Linked DNA regions of Homo sapiens: regions 2, 3, 4 and 5 are each linked to region 1. The links are contacts of gene promoters, found by promoter capture Hi-C in blood cells and fetal thymus (Javierre and others, 2016). All regions are on one chromosome and are shown on one strand. The core of a region is centred on a gene start or on the middle of the fragment in contact, and the rest is flanking DNA. Distances in the headings are between cores, read along the strand shown. Region 1 holds the start of GSDMA (gasdermin A). Region 2 has its middle 6.2 kb from the start of TOP2A. Region 3 has its middle 70 kb from the start of NEUROD2. Region 4 has its middle 32 kb from the start of NEUROD2. Region 5 overlaps PPP1R1B (protein phosphatase 1 regulatory inhibitor subunit 1B).

What was found. The method cuts DNA at HindIII sites, captures the fragments that hold promoters and counts their contacts. A CHiCAGO score of 5 or more calls a contact.
Region 2: a fragment that was not itself captured here is called in contact with the fragment with the promoter of GSDMA in region 1 in 1 of 17 cell types (neutrophils); the score reaches 5.1 in neutrophils.
Region 3: a contact is called between a fragment that was not itself captured here and the fragment with the promoter of GSDMA in region 1, in 1 of 17 cell types (total B cells). The highest score is 6.4, in total B cells.
Region 4: a contact is called between a fragment that was not itself captured here and the fragment with the promoter of GSDMA in region 1, in 1 of 17 cell types (naive B cells). The highest score is 6.5, in naive B cells.
Region 5: a fragment that was not itself captured here is called in contact with the fragment with the promoter of GSDMA in region 1 in 11 of 17 cell types (activated CD4 T cells, total B cells, megakaryocytes and 8 more); the score reaches 10.2 in activated CD4 T cells.

The regions. Positions count from the first base shown.
Region 1 is chr17:39,960,657-39,965,010 of GRCh38, forward strand. It overlaps GSDMA (gasdermin A), which reads left to right and starts at 2,348. Exons shown (of 12, transcript NM_178171.5): 1 at 2,348-2,429. The HindIII fragment of the contact is 5,749 bases long and covers 1-4,156 here.
Region 2 is chr17:40,421,962-40,426,315 of GRCh38, forward strand. No RefSeq gene overlaps it. Among named protein-coding and RNA genes, the nearest start is that of TOP2A, 6.2 kb to the left of the region's middle. The HindIII fragment of the contact is 5,218 bases long and covers 1-4,354 here.
Region 3 is chr17:39,536,048-39,540,401 of GRCh38, forward strand. It overlaps a transcript of CDK12 not described here. Among named protein-coding and RNA genes, the nearest start is that of NEUROD2, 70 kb to the right of the region's middle. The HindIII fragment of the contact is 2,290 bases long and covers 1,295-3,584 here.
Region 4 is chr17:39,573,279-39,577,632 of GRCh38, forward strand. No RefSeq gene overlaps it. Among named protein-coding and RNA genes, the nearest start is that of NEUROD2, 32 kb to the right of the region's middle. RefSeq lists a silencer at 343-612 and an enhancer at 1,278-1,852. The HindIII fragment of the contact is 2,619 bases long and covers 1,021-3,639 here.
Region 5 is chr17:39,631,144-39,635,497 of GRCh38, forward strand. It overlaps PPP1R1B (protein phosphatase 1 regulatory inhibitor subunit 1B), which reads left to right. Exons shown (of 7, transcript NM_032192.4): 5 at 2,740-2,943. It overlaps LOC124903998 (a long non-coding RNA gene), which reads right to left. Exons shown (of 2, transcript XR_007065749.1): 2 at 3,495-3,883. Among named protein-coding and RNA genes, the nearest start is that of STARD3, 3.8 kb to the right of the region's middle. RefSeq lists enhancers at 219-1,138, 1,139-2,058, 4,146-4,354. The HindIII fragment of the contact is 4,225 bases long and covers 143-4,354 here.

The DNA.
Region 1 (4,354 bases), core at 1,098-3,597:
CAGCCAGTGGGAGAAGGGTAGTCACTGGGAAGAAACTCCCAAAAGTCTGACCGAGGCAATGCTAGGCTGGTGAGAGGGTGGGAGTGGGACTATCTTCCCTGGAGCTGATTAAGGCATAAGGAGACTGCACAGCCTCAGGACTATATGCTGAAATGCAGGCATCACGTCAGTGTAGTGGCTGAGAGATACAAGGAGGAAGAGGTGGAAATCCAGGAAAACAGACAGAGATGAAAGGACTATAACACACACAGCAGGTTTCTATGTAAATATGTGCTTGTGATAGGGACCAGATGACTAACGACAACCTTTTTTTTCTTTTTCTTTTTTTTTTTTTTGAATCGGAGTCTTGCTCTGTCGCCCAGCCTGGCATGCAGTGGCACGATCTCGGCTCACTGCAACCTCCACCTCCCGGGTTCAAGTGATTCTCCTGCCTCAGCCTCCCAAGTAGCTGGGATTACAGGCACCTGCCACCACGCCCAGCTAATTTTTGCAGTTTTGGTAGAGATGGTGTTTCCCTCATGTTGGCCAGGCTGGTCTCGAACTCCTGACCTCAGGTGATCCACCCACTTCTGCCTCCCAAAGTGCTGGAATTACAGCCGTGAACCACCGCACCCAGCCTAACGACAACCTTCCCACACACTCAAGCCCCCACCTCTGCCTCTCCTAAGGAGAAGGGACATTTGATTGCTGGAATGGCTGGAGCTGTGGAAGGAGGATGAAGTATTGGGTGGCTGCAGTGAGCCATGATCAAGCCACTGCGCTCCAGCCTGGGTGACAGAGCGAGGCCCCGTCTCAAAAAGGTGTAGGGTGGATGGGAAAGTATGTAAAGAAAAAGAGAGTGAGCAGGGACCAGAGAGGCAGAGGCAAGGCTTGGCTTTGTTCTGTTTCAAGACATAGAGAAGAGATATTTGGGAGCATCTGTCATATTGAATGAGACTTTGGGGACACAAGTGGAGTAATGACTATTTTAGGGAGTTTTCCTAAGTGTGGAATGGTCTAGTCTCATTCACCATCAGCCCCTCAAGGAAACGTTCAGTAAAGATGGAATTGGCCGGGCGCAGTGGCTCATCCTGTAATCCCAGCACTTTGGGAGGCCGAGGCGGGCGGATCATGAGGTCAGGAGATCAAGACCCTCCTGGCCAACATGGCGAAACCCCGTCTCTAATAAAAATACAAAACTAGCCAGGCATGGTGGTGCATGCCTGTAATCCCAGCTACTCGGGAGGCTGAGGCAGAGAACTGTTTGAACCCGGGAGGTGGAAGTTGCAGTGAGCTGAGATTGCACCGCTGCACTCCAGCCTGGAGGACAGAGCGAGACTCCTTCTCAAAAAAAAAAAAGATGGAATTTACTCTTCACAGCATTCAGGGTTGCGTTTCTTTTTCCATGAGTGGTACTAAGAAGAGCCTCAAGGTGGGAGCAGGAAGGCTCTGCTGTGTCAGGTTATACCTGCACATATGCATGGCCACATGGCCCAACACTGTAAGGGCCTTGCTTGTAAGTCCCTTATTCTGTCCTCTAGCAATGTGACCATGTAGGCAACATTTGAAATTCCTTTAAAATTCCTTCTAGGCAGAGATTTAAGCTAAGAGGAGGACCTGAGTGACCTCTGGTGCAACATCTGAAAGCCCACGACAAGCCTCCTGGGCTTTTCCATGAATATCGCCGTGCCCCTGCCTACGGATATGCTGATGTGTGTATACAATATTCTGTGAGAAGCAGAGACGCTGAACACTAAACAACACAAACCCATTTGGTCTAACTCCATCTCTGCCTACTCAGACATCTGCTTCTAGCGGTATCAGAGTTATGTCTATGTAGCTAAAACAAATGGAGTAAGGCAGCAATACACACAGGCTGACAAGCCCAGGATGGAGGGCGGCACTGCAGATGCTCTGCTCTCTACTGGAATGTGTGGACATACAGGAATCCCTATCCCAGGACACCCGCAGACCCCCACCATGAATCCGAGATGCTCCCCAATGACGGTGATGATGACAGAACAGAGATGCCATCCCTGGTCACACACACACACACACACACACACACACTCCCACTGCCTCCCTCTGCACCCCTCCCAAAGGCACCTGCCTTCCTCTCCTCTCAATCCACAAGCCAACCTCCAGCTGCCACCTCTCTATCAGCCTTGGCTACCCCCACCCACGCTGGCACCTGCCTGGCAGCTCCCTATCCACCCCCTCAGCCCTCAGGAGGCCAGGGCACACGTGGAACAGGTTGATGTTGTTCTCCAGGAAGTGGAGTGGGAGGGGGGTGGGGTCACTAGGGCAGGCGGGGTCCCCGGAAGCCTCTGTCCCTGCATAAAGCAGCCTGTCCTGGCAAGGGATGGTCATCCTCTCAACCTACAGACCCAGTGAGCCCTAGGCCCTCACCCCAGACCCAGCTGCTGGATAGGACCCAGCCCCGCTCCCAGGTAAGAACTTGATGACAGCAGGGAAGGCAGGGGTGCTCTGAGGACACAGGAAGATGGGTGGACCAAGAAGGGAATGGAACTCCCCTAGAGTCCAGTGGGATAAGTATCCCGATAGGCCTTGGGGAGGGAAGGGAGAGGCAGGCCTGTGGACATCTCTCTGGTGAAGAGGAGGCTGCTGTTGCCCAAGCCCTTCCCAGGTGCACCCAGGTAGCACCAGGAGGTTGTCCTGCCCCATCCTGGCCCTCCCAGGAATGAGGGTGAAAAAAAAAAAGCACCTTGAAGCTGGCAGAACAGCCCCACGCATCTGTGCCGTGCTTCCTGCCCCCCCTGCTGCTGTGAAGTGCCTGTGGTGGATGTGGGATGCTTCCAAGCCAGCTGGTGTGGCCTCTTCCACCCACGGGGATAACTGGGGTGTGCCGATCGGCCACCCAGCCAGAGCACCTGGACTCAAACTTCAAAGACAGAGACTTAAGATGTTGACCCTCAGGTCAGGTGCGGTGGCTCACACCTGTAATCCCAGCACTTTGGGAGGGTGAGATGGGCGGATCACCTGAGGTCAGGAGTTCAAGACCAGCCTGGCCAACATGGTGAAACACCGTCTCTACTAAAAACACAAAAATTAGCTGGGCATGGTGGCAGGCGCCTGTAATCCCAGCTACCTGGGAGACTGAGGCAGGAGAATCACTTGAACCCAGGAGATGGAGGTTGCAGTGAGCCGAGATCATGCCATTGCACTCCAGCCTGGGCAACAAGAATGAAACTCCATCTCAAAAAGAAAAAAAAAATGTTGCCTCTCAGGTTCCCATGGGCCCCACATTCTCCAGGGCCCTCTCATCCTAGCGCACATCTCTCAGGGCCACATTCATTGGTTCTTTCCACACACATTTGCCAAGCTCGAACTCTGTGCCAGGTGTGGTACTTGCTGCTGCAGAGGTGACTAAGACCCATTTCCTGCCCTCTGGGAAGTCACAGACGAGTTGCTGATAGGGTCAGGTGAACAGATCATAACAAAGGAAGGTGCATCAGAAGAGCGCTTTGGAAACACAGATACAGTCACCAGCTGCCTGGAGGACTGAGGGAAGAGGTTCCAGGAGGTGACCTGAATTGAGCATTAGCGGAGGACTAGGGAGTCTTCAGATCCGGAAGCGGGTATTGTAAGCAGAGGGGGCAAAGGTGAAGAGCATCAAAATGCCTGGATCCTGGCTGGGCACAGAGGCTCACACCTGTAATCACAGTACTTTGGGAGGTCAAGGAGGGCGGATCATTTGAGGTCAGGAGTTCGAGACCAGCCTGACCAACATGGTGAAACCCTGTCTCCATTAAAAATACAAAAATTAGCCAGGCGTGGTGGCACACACCTGCAGTCCCAGCTACTCGGGAGGCTGAGGCAGGAGAATCGCTTGAATCTGAGAGGTGGAGACTGCAGGGAGCCGAGATGGCACCACTGCACTCCACCCTGGGCAACAGAGTAAGACTCCATCTCAAAAAGAAAAAAAAAAGTCTGGATCCAGGCATCCCCCAGGGGCTGTGAGAGGGGAGTGGGTGTACTCATACCTGTGGCACGCATGAGGGAAGGACAGGGTGCAGGGAAGTGTAACCCACACATGGAAAGGGCAACTGGGGCAGGTGAACAGCTTGGCCACCCAGGCTCTTGTTGCCAGCAGCATCTCCTTCCCTCCCCTGGTGTCCTCCGACTCTGGCTATTGCTAGTCTCTGGTGTGAGAGAAAGCTTTACTTCCATTGCTAAATAAATGCTCTAGACCAGGCGCAGTGGCTCACACCTGTAATCCCAGCACTTCGGGAGGCTGAGGTGGGAGGATCACTTGAGCCAGGAGTTTGAGACCAGCCTGGGAAACATAGTGAGACTCTGTCTCTACAAAAAAAATTTAAAAATTAGCCAAGTGCATGACTGCAGTCCCAGCTAC
Region 2 (4,354 bases), core at 1,216-3,715, 460 kb after region 1:
CTGACTTAGGTAGATTGGACTCTCCTGTTTTCAGGAAAAAGTGGTCTGTTTTGGAATCTATCTGCTTCTTTAAAGTTTCAGTTGGATTACATGGCATTTAGCACGAATTACTCCATCTTGGTTTGGTCTAGTCTTTTGGGGCCTAGTGTAGGAGCTCAGTTGAAAACAATGGCCTCCATAATTTTTTTTTTTAGACGGAGTCTCACTCTATTGCCCAGGCTGGAGTGCAGGGGTGCGATCTCGGCTCACTGCAACCTCGGTCTCCCGAGCTCAAGCAATTCTCCTGCTTCAGCCTCTGCAGCAGCTGAGATTACTGGCGTGCACCACCACACCCAGCTAATTTTTGTAGAGGCGGGTTTCGCCATGTTGGCCAGGCTGGTCTTGAACTCCTGACCTCAAGTGATCTGCCTGCCTTGGCCTCCCAAAGCACTGAGATTACAGGAGTGAGCCCCCGCTCCCAGCCAACCTCCCATAATTTTTTTTTTTTTTTTTTGAGACGGAGTCTCGCTCTTTCGCCCAGGCTGGAGTGCAGTGGTGTGATCTTGGCTCACTGCAACCTCCACCTCCCAGGTTCAAGCAATTCTCCTGCCTCAGCCTGCTGAGTAGCTGGGATTACAGGTGTCCACCACCACGCCCAGCTAATTTTTGTATTTTTAGTAGAGATGGGGTTTCACCATGTTGGTCAGGCTATTCTCGAACCCCTGACCTCGTGATCCACCCGCCTCGGCCTCCCAAAGTGCTGGGATTATAGGCGTGAGCCACGGCGCCCGGCCTATAATTTTTAACAATCTAAAATGGGGATAATGGGAGTACCTCCTCCTGCTCTTCATAGGGTGAGCTATCCTCATTATCCACCCACCCTGCCCCACTCTGCAAAATTCTTACACCAAATTCTTAGTGCATTGTCTGGCAAGTAATAAGTGCTCAAGACATGTTAACAATGACTACCTCTGCTCCTTTCCAGGATCTTCCTTCCCTGCTAGTCCCACCAATTCCTTCTCCAAAACCAGCTCAAAATTCTCCTACCCAGGGAGCCTTCTCTGACAGTCTTTTTCATTGAACCTCCTCAAGTCTTTTGAGGTATATTTGCATATGCAGATAAGTTCCTTTTATAAGTATTCTTTGGTTGTTTTCTCCTGGGTTGTGTGCTTCCGTTCTTTCTGCTCTTTGGCAAGGGGAGGGAAGGTCCTGGAGGCATAGTGTCCCCTTCATGGATCTGGAAGGTCCCCTAGAAAGAGCAGCATTTCTTCTCTTTTGCAGGCTTTCCCAGCAGAAGGAGGCTGGACTGAAAGTGTGGCTCTGGATTTGGGGTTTGGAGCTGGCTAGGCTGGAGCCCACTGGGAATTCCTGGATGAGGCTGAGCCAGCGCCAGAGTACTCAGGTGGTTAGGGCTGGGCCAAGAAGCTCTGTTTACCTTGAGGTTGACAACTGGCGAGCCTGGTCAGTTTATTTATTTATTTATTTTTATTTGTTTATTTTTTTACCAGGGATACCAGCCTCTGGTTGGAGGAGGCCAAGAAAACCCAAAATGTCCCATACAGCCTAGCCTCTAGGTGGCCCCTGTCAAAGAAATGTGGACAAAGTTGGGAGGAGAGCAAGGGAGGTTACAGAGGGGAGCAGTTCAGGACCAGAGTTGAGTAATCCCTAAGTCTGCACAGAAGTTCCCTATCCATCAAAAATTTTAAAATGTACACACCTTGTAACTCAGCAGTTTAAATTCTAGGAATACTGAATTCAATCAATTCAATTCAGTTGTGGAATTGTGCAAAGATGTATGTACATATGTATAGGATTATTGCAATGTTGGTGGTTTTCTTTTTCTTTTCTTTTTCTTTTTCTTTTTTTTTGAGACGGATTCTTGCTGTGTCGCCCAGGCTGGAGTGCAGTGGTGCAATCTCGGCTCACTGCAACCTCCGCCTCCTGGGTTCAAGTGATTTTTCCTGGCTCAGCTTCCTGAGTAGCTGGGACTACAGGCACATGACACCACGCCCAGCTAATTTTTGTATTTTTAGAAGAGATGAGGTTTCACCATGTTGGCCAGGCTTGTCTCGAACTCCTGACCTCAAGTGATCCACCCGCCTCGGCCTCTCAAAGTGCTGGGATTACAGGTGTGAGCCACTGCACCCGGCCTATTTATTGCAATATTGTTTTTAATAGAAAATAACTGGCAGCAAGCTAATGGAATGAAATGATATGCAGCTATTAAAGAGATGGACATTGGTCTAAGTGTACTGATATGGAGGTATCTCTAAGATATACTGTTAAGTTTTTTAAAAAGTGAGGCAAATACTGTCTAGAGCATAATTCCATTTGAGTAAATAAAATTATATATATTATACATACATATATGTGTATACCCATATGTGTATATATTATATATACATATATGTGTATACACATATATGTGTATATATATGGATTGAGTATATATATATGTATATATATATGGATTGAGAATATCTGGAAGGAATTGTAAGGAGGTGGAGGGAAAGGAAGACTTCCTTTCTTCTTTCTTTTTGAGACACAGTTTCAGCTCTGTTGCCCAGGCTGGAGTGTAGTGGCACCATCATGACTCATTGCAGCCTCAAACTCCTGGGCTCAAGCGATTCTCCTGTCTCAGCCTCCCAAGTAGCTGGGACTACAGGCCTGTGCCAGCAAGCCTGGCTGATTAAAAAAAATGTTTTTTTTAGAGACGAGGTCTTGCTATGTTTCCCAGGCTGGTCTCCAACTCCTGGGCTCAAGTGGTCCTCCCAGTTCAGCCTCCCAAGGTGTTGGGATTACAGGCGTGAGCCACTGCACCCAGCCAAGAGTTGCTTTTTGTATTTTTCCTCCTATTTGAAAATTTAAAAGTAAGGTCACCCTTCTCACCCCTGTCACCTTCCCCCACCTCATTGAAGGCAGGCATACCTGTCTATACACGTTTGTGTAAGAATGTAATTTTTATAGATAAAGATAGATTATCAGTAGACTTGGGAACTCAGTGCTAAGAACTCTGCAGAAAAGTTAAATCTTTGGACCAAAGTAAGGGACACTGTGCTGTGGTGAGAAGTCCCAGACCAGCTCTGCTGTCCCTAGTTGCACGAGCTTGGGTAAATCCCCTTCTCTCTCTAGTTTTCAGTTTCCCCACCTGTAAACTGAAGTTGAGGTACCCCAGCTAGAGGATTGGGTTGCAAAATGCCTTCTTCACAGTCTCAGAGAGGTGATAGTGAGGCCGGGCATGGTGGCTCACGCCTGTAATCCCAGCACTTTGGGAGGCCGAGGCGGGCAGATCACCAGGTCAGGAGATGGAGACCATCCTGGCTAACACAGTGAAACCCTGTCTCTACTAAAAATACAAAAAAAAAAAAAAAAAAAAATTTGCCGGGCATGGTGGTGAGCACCTGTAGTCCCAGCTATGCGGGAGGCTGAGGCAGGAGAATGGTGCAAACCCGGGAGGCGGAGTTTGCAGTGAGCCGAGATCGCGCCATTGCACTCCAGCCTGGGTGACAGAGTGAGACTCCGTCTCAAAAAAAAAAAAAAAAAAAAAAAAAAAAGAGAGAGGTGATAGTGAAAGCACTTGGAGGAGGTGAGGCCCAGTTAACCAATCCAGAACAGTCCCACTTTCATCTTTTCATATTTTAGGTTCTGTGTAAAACTTCATTAAACACAGGGCTCCACTGCTTAGATTTTTAAAATTAATGGGTAAATTACTGTTAAGGGCTTTTCAAGTTCTGACACTGTAATTCCAAATATGACTTTTCATTTATTGAGTTGGTTTAAATCAGGGTATGCCTGCAGCTTTGTCTTCCTTTCCCCCCCACAGAGCCCAACCAGGGCTGCAGAGGAGCTCAAGCCCATCGGGGCTGAACCCTGGTGTATGGGGAGGCAGAGGAGGGCCACGGATCCTTTTCACTCTTTATGTGACATCCCTTCCCCCATCTCGTGGCCTAGTGGTATGGCTGGGGCTCTGCCAGCTCCCTAAGACATCCCCAATTGCCCCTCTCTGGCACCAGTGCCTGCCGATGGCAGCTGCTGGAACTGGAGCTTGGCCTTAGTTTTATGCCTGCTGGAGACTTGATCAGCAAGACCTGGGCAAACATAATGAGCCCCTTGCTGCTTCCTCACCCCTAAACTCTCCAGCTCCCTACATCCTTCCTCTGCAGCCCACAGAATGGAAGTGGTAAAGTAGCCCTCCCATCTGACAGCAGAGGCCAGGGCTGGGCCTCTCTGTTCTCTCAGCTTTTCACACCAGGAAAGGGAGGCAGAACTGGACTGAGTATCTTGATAGTCCTCAGGCTACTTGAATGATCGCCCTCAGTATGTTTTATTTGGTCACTGTGGAACATGGAAGGTCATCACCGAGGAACTTCTGCAT
Region 3 (4,354 bases), core at 1,190-3,689, 420 kb before region 1:
GTGTTCCTAATTAGGAATTCTCTCAAGTAGGAGATTACTCCAAGCCAGAGTTGAAAGACTGGGGGAGTACGACACCTGAAGGAATTACTGGTGGTACTCCTTACTGTACGCAACTGTCTCTCCATCTCCTATCCACCCACTTCTTTTCCCTATTTCTCTTTCTCCCCACTCACCATTCAACTGGAATAATTTAGGCCTACCATCGGTATTGATTGCTTAACCCTACCAGGTATTTAGAGTTACTGCTATTTCATTGTTTTGAAAGGTAATGAGAGTCAATTCAGAAGACAAATGTCTATCTGGATCCTCAACCTACTGTAGTGGAAAGTGAAGGAGAAAGTAAACTAACCATACTTTCTTATTGCTAGGAGCTATGAAAGGAGCTTTTCATTTGTGTTATGTAGGGTACAAAAGATTATTTTGTACCCTGGCCAGGAAAGGCAGGGAGTCATCTTTCTGTCTTCCTGCTTCCCCTCTTTCAACCTTCACCTTTTTATCCTCTTCTTCCATATCCTGAGATTGTTGCTTTTGCTGATGACATTTCTAAGCTCAGTTGCAGATGGTGTCTGTGGGAAGTAAAGCTTGGTGAGAAGAGGGCTCTCTGGTATCTAAGAGAAAGCAGATAAGAGTTGCTTTAATGTCCTGGTGATTAATCACTGGGGTGCCAAAACACTTTGACCACTGGATTTCTCTCATATCTCTTATCTCAAAAAATTAGTACTCCAAGGCTGAGAGAAAGAGACTGATACTGAGTTTGTCTTTCATACCCTCTAAGTGGGTAGTTTGTTAGTGGACCATTCTCAATTTGCAACCTTCAGCTACAGCATACTTCTGTGGAATAAGAAGGTATAGCCATGAAATAAATTTACTTAGACCCAGGTTCTCTAGGACCTGTAAATGGATGGACTTTTTGATATCTTGCTCTGGCATGTTTGTAAACTACAGATAGTATTGACAGCTCTAAAGGAATGAAGGGCATTTTATCCAGGCCAAACCAACCCTGAGGGAGGCAGCATGAAGAAACCTTTAAGAAGTCCACCATATAGCAGTCAGAGCTAAGTAAAGAACAAAGTCTGAGTCTTGGAGGATGTCTTTTCTCTACCTAAGGGGCCTATCTGATGGACTCTCTAGGAGGGGATCCTTCTCCCTCCTCAGTCTCAGAACTACAATAGTGCCTAATGAGGGACACCCTTGGTGAGGATCAGCTTGTAGATGACCCTCCTCACCAAGGCTAATGCAATTTTGAATGCATTTGGACCTGGAGAAAACAGGCTGAATTCAAAGACCTAAAGAAAGCTTAGTAGCCTGGTCCCTTTTTTAAAGTCTGGAACTTTTTAGTTTGGCCTTATACTAGTGTTAATATTTATAATTTCTGTTAGGGGACCAAAAGTCTCAGAAAATGAAGCAATATAAGAGGTGGAAATAAGGGTAAGAAGGGAGAACTAGAAGAGTCTGGTAGCTGGGCTGCAGAAAGAGACTTGGGGTATAATTCCTTATTTTTATTTATTTATTTATTTATTTATTTATTTATTTATTTATTTTTGAGATGGACTTGCTCTTCTTGGAGTGCAGTGGTGTGATCTCGGCTCACTGCAGCCTCCACCTCCCAGGTTCCAGCAATTCTCCTGTCTCAGCCTCCCAAGTAGCTGGGATTACAGGTGCGTGCCACCATGCCCAGCTAATTTTTTGTATTTTTAGTAGTGACAGGGTTTCACCATGCTGGCCAGGCTGGTCTTGAACTCCTGACCTTGTGATCCACCCGCCTCGGCCTCCCAAAGTGCTCGGCCTCCCAAAGTGAGCCACCGCGCCCAGCTTGGATATAATTGCTTATAAAGAAGAGAGGGATACAGGATGGAAGGAAAAATTATGGTTGAGTTAGTGAAATTTATAGGATAATTTTCTTAGAGATTCACAGTTCATTTCAGGAAGACCCCATTAAAGCACCAATACTGAGTAAAGAATTCCCCTTAATTACAGTAGTCTTACCTTTAGGGTTGGAGGATGGGCCAAGAACCCCTAGGATACTATGAAGACATTTTCTGTAGGGAAACTAGAAAAGATGGGCAAATATGTTAAGCAATATGTAAGGACATTTACTTAACACTGTTATCTACATAGTTCAAGAGAGTAATTCAAGAATAAGGAGGAATGACATGGATGCATCACATTAAACAGTTATTTGTATTGTTTGAATTTCAAAACTCCTGCAAGTGGTTTTAGGTATGCTAAGTCAACCTAGAGACTAGTAGTATTCCTCTGCCACTCATTTTAGATCCAAATGATGGCAGTGCATAGAAGAACAAACGAGAATATGCGAATTAGAGTCACAGAATGTTAGAGCTACAAAAGAAGATTAGTTTGTTTGGTTCAGTACCATCTTTAACCAGTAAAAAATGCCCAGAAAGGCCGAGGAACATGTATGGTGTTGCGAGAAAGAAGGGAGAGAAAGGGAACTAACATTGTTGGGTACCTGCTATGTGTCAGGCGCTGCCTAAGTGCTTTGTTTTTATCTTGATTGATTAGCACCTTGAGGCTAAGGGATAGAATGAATAAATGGCAAACCCCGGCTACCTGGGAGCGGTGGCTCACGCCTGTAATCCCAGCACTTTGGGAGGCCAAGGTGGGTGGATCACGAGGTCAGGAGATCGAGACCATTCTGGCTTACACGGTGAAACCCCATCTCTACTAAAAATACAAAAAATTAGCCAGGCGTGGTGGCACAAGCCTGTAGTCCCAGCTTCCCGGGAGGCTGAGGCAGGAGAATTTGCTTGAACCCAGGAGGTGGAGGTTGCAGTGAGTGAAGATTGCGCCACTTCACTCCAGCCTAGGCGACAGAATGAGACTCCATCTCAAATAAATACATACATACATACATACATACATACATACATACATACATACATACATAAGGCTAGTATCCTGAGCAATATGTAGGAGATAAAAGGGAGTGGTAGACCACGTTTTTCTCTCTAACCACACAGGGCTAAACTAGAGGAAGTAAAGAGTCAGCATTTGAGAGTGAGGTTAATCTAAGGAAGTATTTGCCAAACTGTTGAAAGCGACTCATAAATAACTTCTCCATTCCTAGAGACCTTCCAAAACATGTTGATAAGAGTTAGGACTGATAGGGACCAAGATTACTCTTGGCTCTGGAATTGATTTTCATTTTGGAAAATCAAGTCATGACCTGAGAATGTGGGATTAATTGTACAAATAGGAAACAAAATGGAGCTTCTCATCCTAAAATGTCTTCAAAGAGAATAGTATTTATCTACCATGAATGAAGGAGATAAATTCCTTTGGTGACTGTACTTGTTTTTTTGTTTTGTTTTGTAACACTTTGAAGTCATGAAACTGAATTTGTAATCTTGGGGAGATTCAGTGCCAAGTTCAAGGCAGGTGGCAATTTGAAAATTGACAGAATAAGATTGTGTTCCTCATGGTTGTTTGATATAATATCCCAATAGTTATACCATGAGGGCTGCTTCAGTGGGGAGCATTAATATCATTAGCAGAGGCATGTCCTGTGTACAGACAGGACAACCTCTGAGGAAGAAGACTGGGGGAGGGTCCCACCTTCAGGAAGCTTCTGGGTCTTGTGAGAGAGGTCAGTCTTACAGCTGGTGGAGAGTGGGGAATCTGTAAGTCAACATATCAATGCAGGTTGTAATATAAAACTATTATAATAAGAGGAAACCAAAGGAAAGAAATAATCGGAGAAAGTGGACTTATTCAGAAACAATTATTTGAAAATAAAGAAGATAGGGGACATAGAACAGAAGAGGAAGGTGAGCAGTGGGAGGAATCTCATGGAAGAGGGCTCATGTATGTTTTGTGCAGAGGCTGTGAATTGGCTGACCAGAATGGTACAGGAAAGGAGTATTAGGAAATGAAGTTGGAGGAGCAATCTCATTGGCTTGAATGAGGAATTTGAGTTGTTAAGCAGTAGCAGGGAACAGAGCATGATGAGATGAAAATCACATTGAGGACTTTTGTAGCAGTACTTGGTCAAGGAAGCAGGAAAGTTCACTAAAATATTATTGTTCTTGCCAAGACATGAAGCACTGAGAGTTTACAGTAGAGTAAGACAAGGAGAATCAGAGGAAAGAAAGTGGGTCCATAGGAATTAGCAAGGCTTGGTCACAGCTTGGATGTGAGGAGAGGGATAAAAGCCTCAGGATGATGATCCCAAGACACATTTGTGCTGTTGGTGGTGATGAAAGCTTGATAAGAGGGAACTGCTTTGTTTTTAAGTAGGAAGTGTTTTGTCTTATTAACCAATTGATAGGATGTGTCAATGTTCAGTATTGCAGAGTCTAGGAGGGGGCACTGCCCCTGGAGGATAGTGGAGCAT
Region 4 (4,354 bases), core at 1,080-3,579, 390 kb before region 1:
CGGGAGGCGGAGGTTGCAGCGAGCCGAGGTCGCGCCAATGCACTCCAGCTTACCCAATAGAGCGAGACGCCGTCTCAAAATAAAATAAAATAAAATAAAATAAATAAGTGAGCGAGTGTATGAGTCGGCCTCCCAAGTCCTGAGAGGCTCAGAGCTTGACCCCCACCAGCAACCTTTGCCCGCACGACCATTTCCCCTGGGGTCCTGGCGGCGACCGCAATGGAGGGGAAAGAGGCCACTGCAGCTTTAAGATTTCTCTCGGGCGTCCCGGTTGCCAAGGCGCGGTTGCCAGCGCCCTGCGCGGAGCTGCGTCCTGCTTTAGCGCGCGGCCTTCGGGTTTCCGCCATCGCCGCCGCCGCCGCCGCCGCCGCCGGGCCGCGCCGGGCTCCGCTCCTCCGAACCGTCTGGCGGACTTGGCACCGGCCCCCGCTCCTCAGTGCCCCCGCAGTGCGTGGCAGGCTGCGGCTTCATTATCCTGATTGATTCCTCCTGCTCCCCGACACCATGGGGGCCCCGGACAAGGAAGGGAGGCGGAGGCGGCATCTGCAGGCCCCTTCCCCGGCCCTCGCCCCCAGCCGCTCCTCAGGCCACCCTGCTGTGGCTGGCCAGGCAGGGCGGGGATGGAGGACCGGCCCCGCCTCTGCTCTCTTGGTGGGCGGGGAGGGGAGGGCCCCAAGGGAGAGCGGAGCAGTGTCCGGTCGGTGCTCTTCCAAGGTTCCAGCTCTGGGCCGCGTACACCCTGCCTCGGCCCGCCCTCAGCAAAGATTTTGCGCCTTCTGAACCGGGAGGATATGGAAAGGTTGGGGTGGGGAAAGAACACAGTGGAGGACTGAGAACTTCAGGAAAACAAGCCCTGGTAAAACGGGAAAGGTGACATCTCTGAGGAGCGTTGGTCACGTGTGTCAAGGCCTGGTGACGCGTGTCTTATGTGCCTCCCTGGGCATCTTCTCAGTACAGTTCTCAGTAGAAGCAGGGGCAGGGTCTGGACCCAACCAACACAGGACACCCCGCAAGGATCTAAGCTTAAAGGAAGGCCAGGAGTCTGTGTGAGGGAGAGGACCTTTTCCCCAGAATCCAGCATGGTGTGCCCACCCCACGCCCAAACCAAGTACTGACACCTTAAAAAGAGCATCTGGGCCGGGTGCGGTGGCTCCCGCCTGTAATCCCAACACTTTGGGAGGCCGAGGCGGGCGGATCATGAGGTCAGGAGTTCGAGACCAGTCTGGCCAACATGGTGAAACCCCGCCTCTACTAAAAATACAAAAAAAAAAAATAGCTGGGCGTGGTGGCGGGCGCCTGTAATCCCAGCTACTCTGGAGGCTGAGGCAGGAGAATCGTTTGAACCCGGGAGGCAGAGGTTGCAATGAGCCAAGATTGCACCATTGCATTCCAGCCTGGGCAACAAGAGCAAAACTCCGTCTCAAAAAAAAAAAAAAAAAAAAAAAAAAAAAAAAAAAAAAAAAAGAGCATCTGGGGCCAGAACTGAGATTGGAGCATCTACTTAGTTCCGCCACTTGGTTTGTAGCCTGGGCAAGTCGCTTTACCTTTCTTAGCCATGGCTTATCCATCTATACAATAGGGATAAGCCAGTTGCCAATGACTAAATGGGATAATATGTAATGTGTAGATGGCAGGACCTTAAGTCCTCTGGCAAAAAGAAGAAAGGGAGATAAGGGGCTGACCTCTATCCCTGCTGCTGTTTTGGGTGGATACCTTGAGGGAGGTGAGTCTTCTCCATATGCTTAAATCCCTGCTTAACTGGAAGATTACCTCAAACCTTCCAGCCAAAGCCGCCCCATTGTCACAGTAGAGGGGCAAAACTGCTCTTTACCTCATTGGCATTGCACGGATTCAATATCTAGGTTTACACCAGGCTCTCTACTACTGTCCTTCTCTCCTTGGGTCCTCTCTTCCCACAATCCCTGACAGTCTCCCTCTCGTGCCTTGCCCCTGTCCTGTCCAAGGGCCAGACCTGGGAAGTTTCTTCCATAGACTCCAACCTTTGATCCCTCTCAGCCCTGGGAAAGAGGGAACTGGTGGAGAATTTGAGGCCGTTTAATGTATACCTGTCATGCTTGTGAATGTGATCTGAGCCTCTCTGGCAACTTCAGTGTCTATCTCAGGGCCTGTTTCCTCTTCTGTAAATTCATTATTCTTGCAACCCACATTGACTGGGTGACAACAGCAGGGCAGCATGGTGCACCCAGCAGGTTGGGAGTATGGAAAAAACACAGGATGGAAAGAACTCCACTGAGGCCGGGCTCGGTGGCTAATGCCTGTAATCCCAGGACTTTGGGAGGCCGAGGTGGGCAGATCGCCTGAGGTCAGGAGTTGAAGACCAGCCTGGCCAACATGGTGAAACCTCGTCTCTACTAAAAATACAAAAAGTAGCCAGGCATGGTGGTGCGCACCTGTAATCCCAGCTACTCAGGAGGCTGAGGCACGAGAATCACTTGAACCCGGGAGGCAGAGGTTGCAGAGAGCTGAGATCGTGCCACTGCACACTGCAGCCTGGGTGACAGAGTGAGACTCCATCTCAAGAAATAAAACCCCACTGTGAAACTACTGATCTGGGGACAACAGACCAATGCACACAGCAGGCTCTCCAATACTAGGGGTCGGTGCAGGGACACCTCCCAGATTCTAGAGCATTCCACAGTGTCATGATGCTTCCTCCTGTCCTTCCTGAGTACAGCAGACTCTTCCCCTAGACTTCTGTCAGAGGCTAATTCATTTCCTACGGGAAAAGACATCCTAAAATTTGAGTCTGGGGCTTTTGTTCATTCCCTTTTGTTGGAATTCCCTATTTTTACACCAGTCATCCAGTATCTTTATATTCAAAGGGAAAACACAATAAAAATACTTCCAGTTTGCCAGTAGCCAGAATCAGGTTAGCTCATGTATCTAGGTTTGCAAAGCTGCCCAGGACCTTTGTTCAGTGTGGCCCTGTGTGTGGCTGCCTTAGTCTACCCACTGGCCTGTCTGCCCACCCATCCCTGGCTGGCCTGCCCTATCTTCAGCGCCTATAGCCCTCAGCTCCACTTCCTATTAATACAAACCATGTGGGACCCTCACTGTGGCGTCTCCAGGCAAAAGATGAAGCCACAGCCGCCTAGTGGCTGCCAGGGAGGCTGGCAGGAAGGGGCATCTCTACCCGGCGTCTCCTGGGAAACAGCGAGCTCCCCAGAGAAGGGACATTTGGAAATAAAATTTCTGCCGTTGTGTGTCAATGTGTGTGTTGAGGCAGGAGAGGGAGTTAAGAAGCCTCCCCAGCCCCTCTGTTCCTTTCTCCTCAGGAAAAGCCTCTTGGAGCAACTCTCCCACTGCCTCCCAAAACTCCAGCCCCTTGTAGGCTCTCCTGGGACTGGACAAGTGGCTGAAAATGTTCCTTCAGATTCATGATGCAGGTGAAGAAGAGCACTGGACTGAGAGTCAGAGGCCCCAGTTCTGAGCTTCCTGACTTACCCCGTGGCTCTGGCCTGTTATACCTCCCTTTCTGAGTCCTAAGTTCCTCCTCTGTAAAATGAAATTTTTTCATCATTCCTGGTCTCTACATTGGGCCTCCTCCACAAAGTCCAGGAATATAGTTGGGGCATTCTAGGCCATTCTTTCCTATACTTAGGACAGATAACTAATAGAAGCTTATAATTCCTAGAGTGACCTTGACTCTAGGAATTCTACAGCGACCTTGAATGAGCCAGGGCCCTTCACCTGCCCATGCATTCATTCAGGCATTTGTAGGTGCCTTTTGAGAGTGAAGTCTGTGCTAAGAGGGTGAAGTCTGTGCTAAGAGGGTCTAAAGCTGCCCCAAATTTTTTTTTTTTTTTTGTAGAGATGGAGTCTTGCTCTGTTACCCAGGCTGGAGTGCGGTGGCGTGATCTTGGCTCACTGCAACCTCCACCTCCTGGGTTCTAGCAATTCTGCCTCAGCCCTCAGCCTCCCAAATAGCTGAGACTACAGGTGCACGCTGCCACACTCGGCTAATTTTTTGTATTTTATTTTATTTTTATTTATTTATTTTTAGATGGAGTCTCGCTCTGTCGCCAGGCTGGAATGTAGTGGCACAATCTTGGTTCACGGCAACCTCTGCCTCCCGGGTTCAAGCGATTCTCCTGCCTCAGCCTCCCAAGAAGCTGGGACTACAGGCGCCCGCCACCACGCCCAGCTAATTTTTGTATTTTTAGTAGAGATGGGGTTTCACCATGATGGCCAGGATGGTCTTTATCTTGACCTCGTGATCTGCCTGCCTTGGCCTCCCAAAGTGCTGGGATTACAGGCATGAGCCATCGTGCCTGGTCCTATTTATTTATTTATTTATTTTGAGACAGAGCCTTGCTCTATCACCCAGGCTGGA
Region 5 (4,354 bases), core at 1,005-3,504, 330 kb before region 1:
AGGATTGCTTGAGCCCAGAAGTTTGAGGCTGCAGTGAGCTATGATCGCACCACTGTGCTCCAGTCTGGGCTACAGAGTGAGAGCCTGTCTCGGGAAAAAATAAAAAAAGAAAAGGGTCAAGGAAGGTACACAAAGATGTTTAAGCTTGGATTTGAAGGATCATAGGAATTTAACAGGCAGGCAAGGGCATCCCAGGTCCAAGAAGAGGGAAGAAGGTGTGCAAAGAGAAAGAGATGCGAGTCAGAGGGGGACTTCTGGGCCAACCTGGAGGAGGCTTCGTTTCTAGTCAGGGAGCTGGGGAGATATACCTGAAGGACATAGGAGGGCCTCTTCCTGACTAAGCCCTGTTGCCTACCAACCCCCCACCTCAACTCCTGCCTGGGGCTCTTCCTGCCCGGCCAGCCCCCTCCGCTCCTGCGGAGGTTGGGAGGGAGAGCTACCGGAAGAGTATGCTGGGAAGTGGTTCGGGGGAGGGTTTAATAAGTTCCCAGCACCAGCCAAGGTCAACAGGTATACCTGTCAGCCCACTTGCCAGGGTTGGGAACAGAGAGGAGAGGCTGGGAAGGGAGGAGAGAAGGGAAGGGGTTATTTTGCTTTCCCCAGGACAGGAAAATGAAGGGTCAGAGCTGCAGCAAGTGGGCAGTGTGGCTCAGCACCTGGAAGGACCTCCCCACCTAGAGGGGTGTGTGGAAGGGCCCCAAAGCAGGCATGAGGGACAGAGTGTCATCTTCTCAGGAGAGAATTTAAGAAATCCCTCTCCCTCCCACCTTGGGCTGGGTAGGGAGAGGCTGGGTGGATGTGAGGGGAAGACCTGGCTCTTGACTGCAAGCATGGGCGAACAGGCCAGGATGAAGATGTTAGGGCCAGGGTGCTACCATGCACCGTGCAGTGGTCAAAATTGTGCACCCCCTCAACTGCCCCTTTAGGCCACATCTTAGGAGAGTCCAGGTGAGTAGAGGCAGGGAAGAGGAAAGGGATCAGGAGAGGGGTGGCCAGTCTGGGGCAAGGCTGGGGACCTTCCAACTGAAGAAGGAAGACTTGTGGTGGGGGGAGTTTGGGGCCCCACAGAGTGGGGCAGAGAAGGAGACAGCCTGGAAGGAGTGATGGGGAGACCCCAGAGAGCCCAGGAGGCATGAGGGAGGTGGGGGAAGCGAGGGAGGCTCACGGGGCACCAGCGCAAGCACCGCACACACCTTCTGTTGTCACTGTGGCTCACGAAGTGAACTCTCCTCCCCCGCTGGGGGAGAAGGAAGCTGCCTGGGCTGCCACCTGCTCTCCTGCCTTACCTCCCCCCACAGCCCTCATGGATCCTTCTCTACCAGGAGGGCACTGTTTTGTAGGCTTCAGTCCTTTTGTGGGCAAGGGAAGGTGCCCGGCAGGGTTGGGGCTTGTCAGGGAAGAATCGAGGGCCCTAGAGAGAGGGGCACAGCACTAAGTCTTAGCTTGAGGGGTTGTGCTCCAAGGCTGGAGCTCTCACACTTGGCTCAAGATGAAGCTCTGCCGCGTCCCCAAGGTCAGGGTAGGGTGATTTATTGTGCTTTTATTGCCTGGATAGCTTGCCCAGAGCCAGCAGGAGGTACTGGGCTGGGAGCTGGGGGCTGGGTGGGGCAGCGGGCACATACAAAGCACCCTCTGTGCCTGTCCCCGAGTTGGCAGGAGCATAGCACCCTGCTCACTGTGCCGGAGGTTTCCAGCCTGGCCCTACCCCTCTGGGCCTTCTGAGGGGAGGGGCCACTGGCAGACCAAGAAGGAACTGCAGCAACTCCCCATTCCCCACCCCCAGCCCCTCCTCAGCATCTTGTCTGTGGCCTGTGAACTTTGTGTCGCATATGTTCTAAGATCCTGCCAGCTCCTGCAGCCTCTCCTCAGTGGCCCCTCAACCTCTGCCATCCCCCAGAACCCCTGGCCTTGGCCCCTTTCTCTAACCCCTTGCTCCTTTCCATCTTTTGGAAACTTGTCTCCAGCTGCCCACACTGTTCCCTTCCCAGCCCTATCTGAGCAGGTCTTTGGAGGCTGGGGGGGTTGCTTTCTAGGTCACCGCAGAGGGAGCTGGGAACCTGGGGATGTGGGTCAAGATTGTGGGGGCCGCATCTGAGCATGCCGCATCCCCCGGCACAGACTGCACTGGCTGCAGACTATTATGTCCTCAGCCTCGGAATTGTTCTGTCCCTTGGAGCCCGGGGCAGGAGTATGTGGATTGGCATCTATGACTGGGCAGTGCCAGGGAGTGGGGACTATGCATCGCATGGGAGGTAGGATCAGGGTAAGCAGTGAGCCCTCAGCAGGCTGGGCACCCCCAAGAAATGGAAAGTGGCAAATCCCCAGGCCCTGGTTCCTACGCCCTGTGCCTTCTGCCTGGGCTTGAAGCTGGGAGACACTGTCTCCCGTACTGGGTACTTGGAAAATCAAGCTCTCCAGCCAGGGAATGTTAAGCTGCTGCTGTGCCCGCCTGGTCTTGCCCAGCCTAGTGCCCTATGGTGTGGGGGAGCTGCCTGGGGGCTAGCATCTTAGGACAGCTTAAGAGCCAAACATGATCAAATCTACCCCTGGCTGCCTCTGCCCTGGTCTGACACCCATCAGGCTGACCTGTCAACTTTGGCCTTTGAACTTGGGCCCCTGAGGGGGTATTCTCTGCCCCAGGCCTACGGGAAGGAGGCTGGGGGCTAGGCCACAGGCTATCTCCAGATCCATGGGCTGTGTCTAGCTGACCCTTGCTTTCCTCGGTCTCCTCTGTGCCAGCTGTGCAGCGCATTGCTGAGTCTCACCTGCAGTCTATCAGCAATTTGAATGAGAACCAGGCCTCAGAGGAGGAGGATGAGCTGGGGGAGCTTCGGGAGCTGGGTTATCCAAGAGAGGAAGATGAGGAGGAAGAGGAGGATGATGAAGAAGAGGAAGAAGAAGAGGACAGCCAGGCTGAAGTCCTGAAGGTCATCAGGCAGTCTGGTAAGCTGAGGGGCCTGTGACATGTGGATTAGCTGTGGGTCCTCCTTGAGTATACGAGGACGTCCCCTTCTAGTTCAGTGTCTCATACACGCAAACTGTAGTGACACCACAGGGGCCTCCCTGTCTTCTCGCTCCATGGGGTGCCCCGAACTCAGCCCTACCTGAGACATGGGTTTCCTCCATCCTTGGCTCAGTCCCTCTCCCAATCAGGTTTTCCCTAATAATTCCTCTCTTCCCTGAGAATTAAGGCCAAGGCCGTTTGGGGTTTGAGGCTAGAGCCAAAAGAGGACTTCCCACCTATGGCAGTAAGGGGGCGTGAGGACATTCAGGGATGGAGGACCAGGAGAGTCCAACACCCCTGTCACCTGCATTTCACCTACATTTTTGAACCTAGGATGTGGTCTCTGCTGGGGTGCAGAGGGCTGCCTCATTTACTTGCCCTCTCCAGGACTGTTGTCTGTTTCTCCTCTTTTTCCTTCCTAGGATGGAGTGGGAGGGTGCCCTCTAGTGTTTAGATGTAGAATTTAAAATTCAAGAACCAGCCCGGCCCATTAACCTTTTTAGTCTCATTATTTATGGGAATACTGAAGAGTCAACCACCCCTACTAGAAGCTGTCAGCTCTTCCACACAAACAAAAGGCCTTGGGCCTCCTGCCTGCATATCTGGCAGTGAAGAGATTGGCCATGGGGGCAAAAGCTGTTGCTGGGCTTCAGTCCCTTTGTGGGCAAGAGACAGCTGGAAGACCTGAATCAGTCCTCACTGAGACCCCTCCAAAACAGTGGAAGAGGGGTGAGAGGAGACTGTTCCCTCAGGAAAAGCAGCAGGTGGCTGGGTGCGGTGGCTCATGCCTGTAATTCCAGCACTTTGGGATGCCAAGGCTAGCGGATCACTTGAGGTCTGGAGTTCAAGACCAGTCCAGCCAACATGGTGAAACCCCATCTGTAATAAAAATACAAAAATTAGCCAGGCACAGTGGCACACACCTGTAATCCCAGCTGCTTGGGAGGCTGAGGCAGAAGAATCCCCTGAACCTGGGAGGTGGAAGTTGCAGTGAGCTGAGATCGCACCACTGCACTCCAGCCTGGGCAACAGAGTGAGACTCCATCTCAAAAACAAAAACAAAAAACCAAAACAAAACAACAAAAAAAAACAAACAAACAAAAAATGCAGAAGGGCACCGGGTCAAATGATAGTCCTATGATGGAGCAATATAAACCACCACGACTCCTAGTGGCTCCTGGGTGCTGGCGCTGGGCTGGGCAGGGTATTCACTATTACATCTTGTTTAAGGTAATCTACACAATTTCCCCCTTTCTATTTCCTTCAGAAAGGTACTAACTGACTTACGTAAGCCATATGGCTAGTTGCTGGGAGAGCTGTTCTAGCCCAGTTCTCTCTCCATGCTTCCAT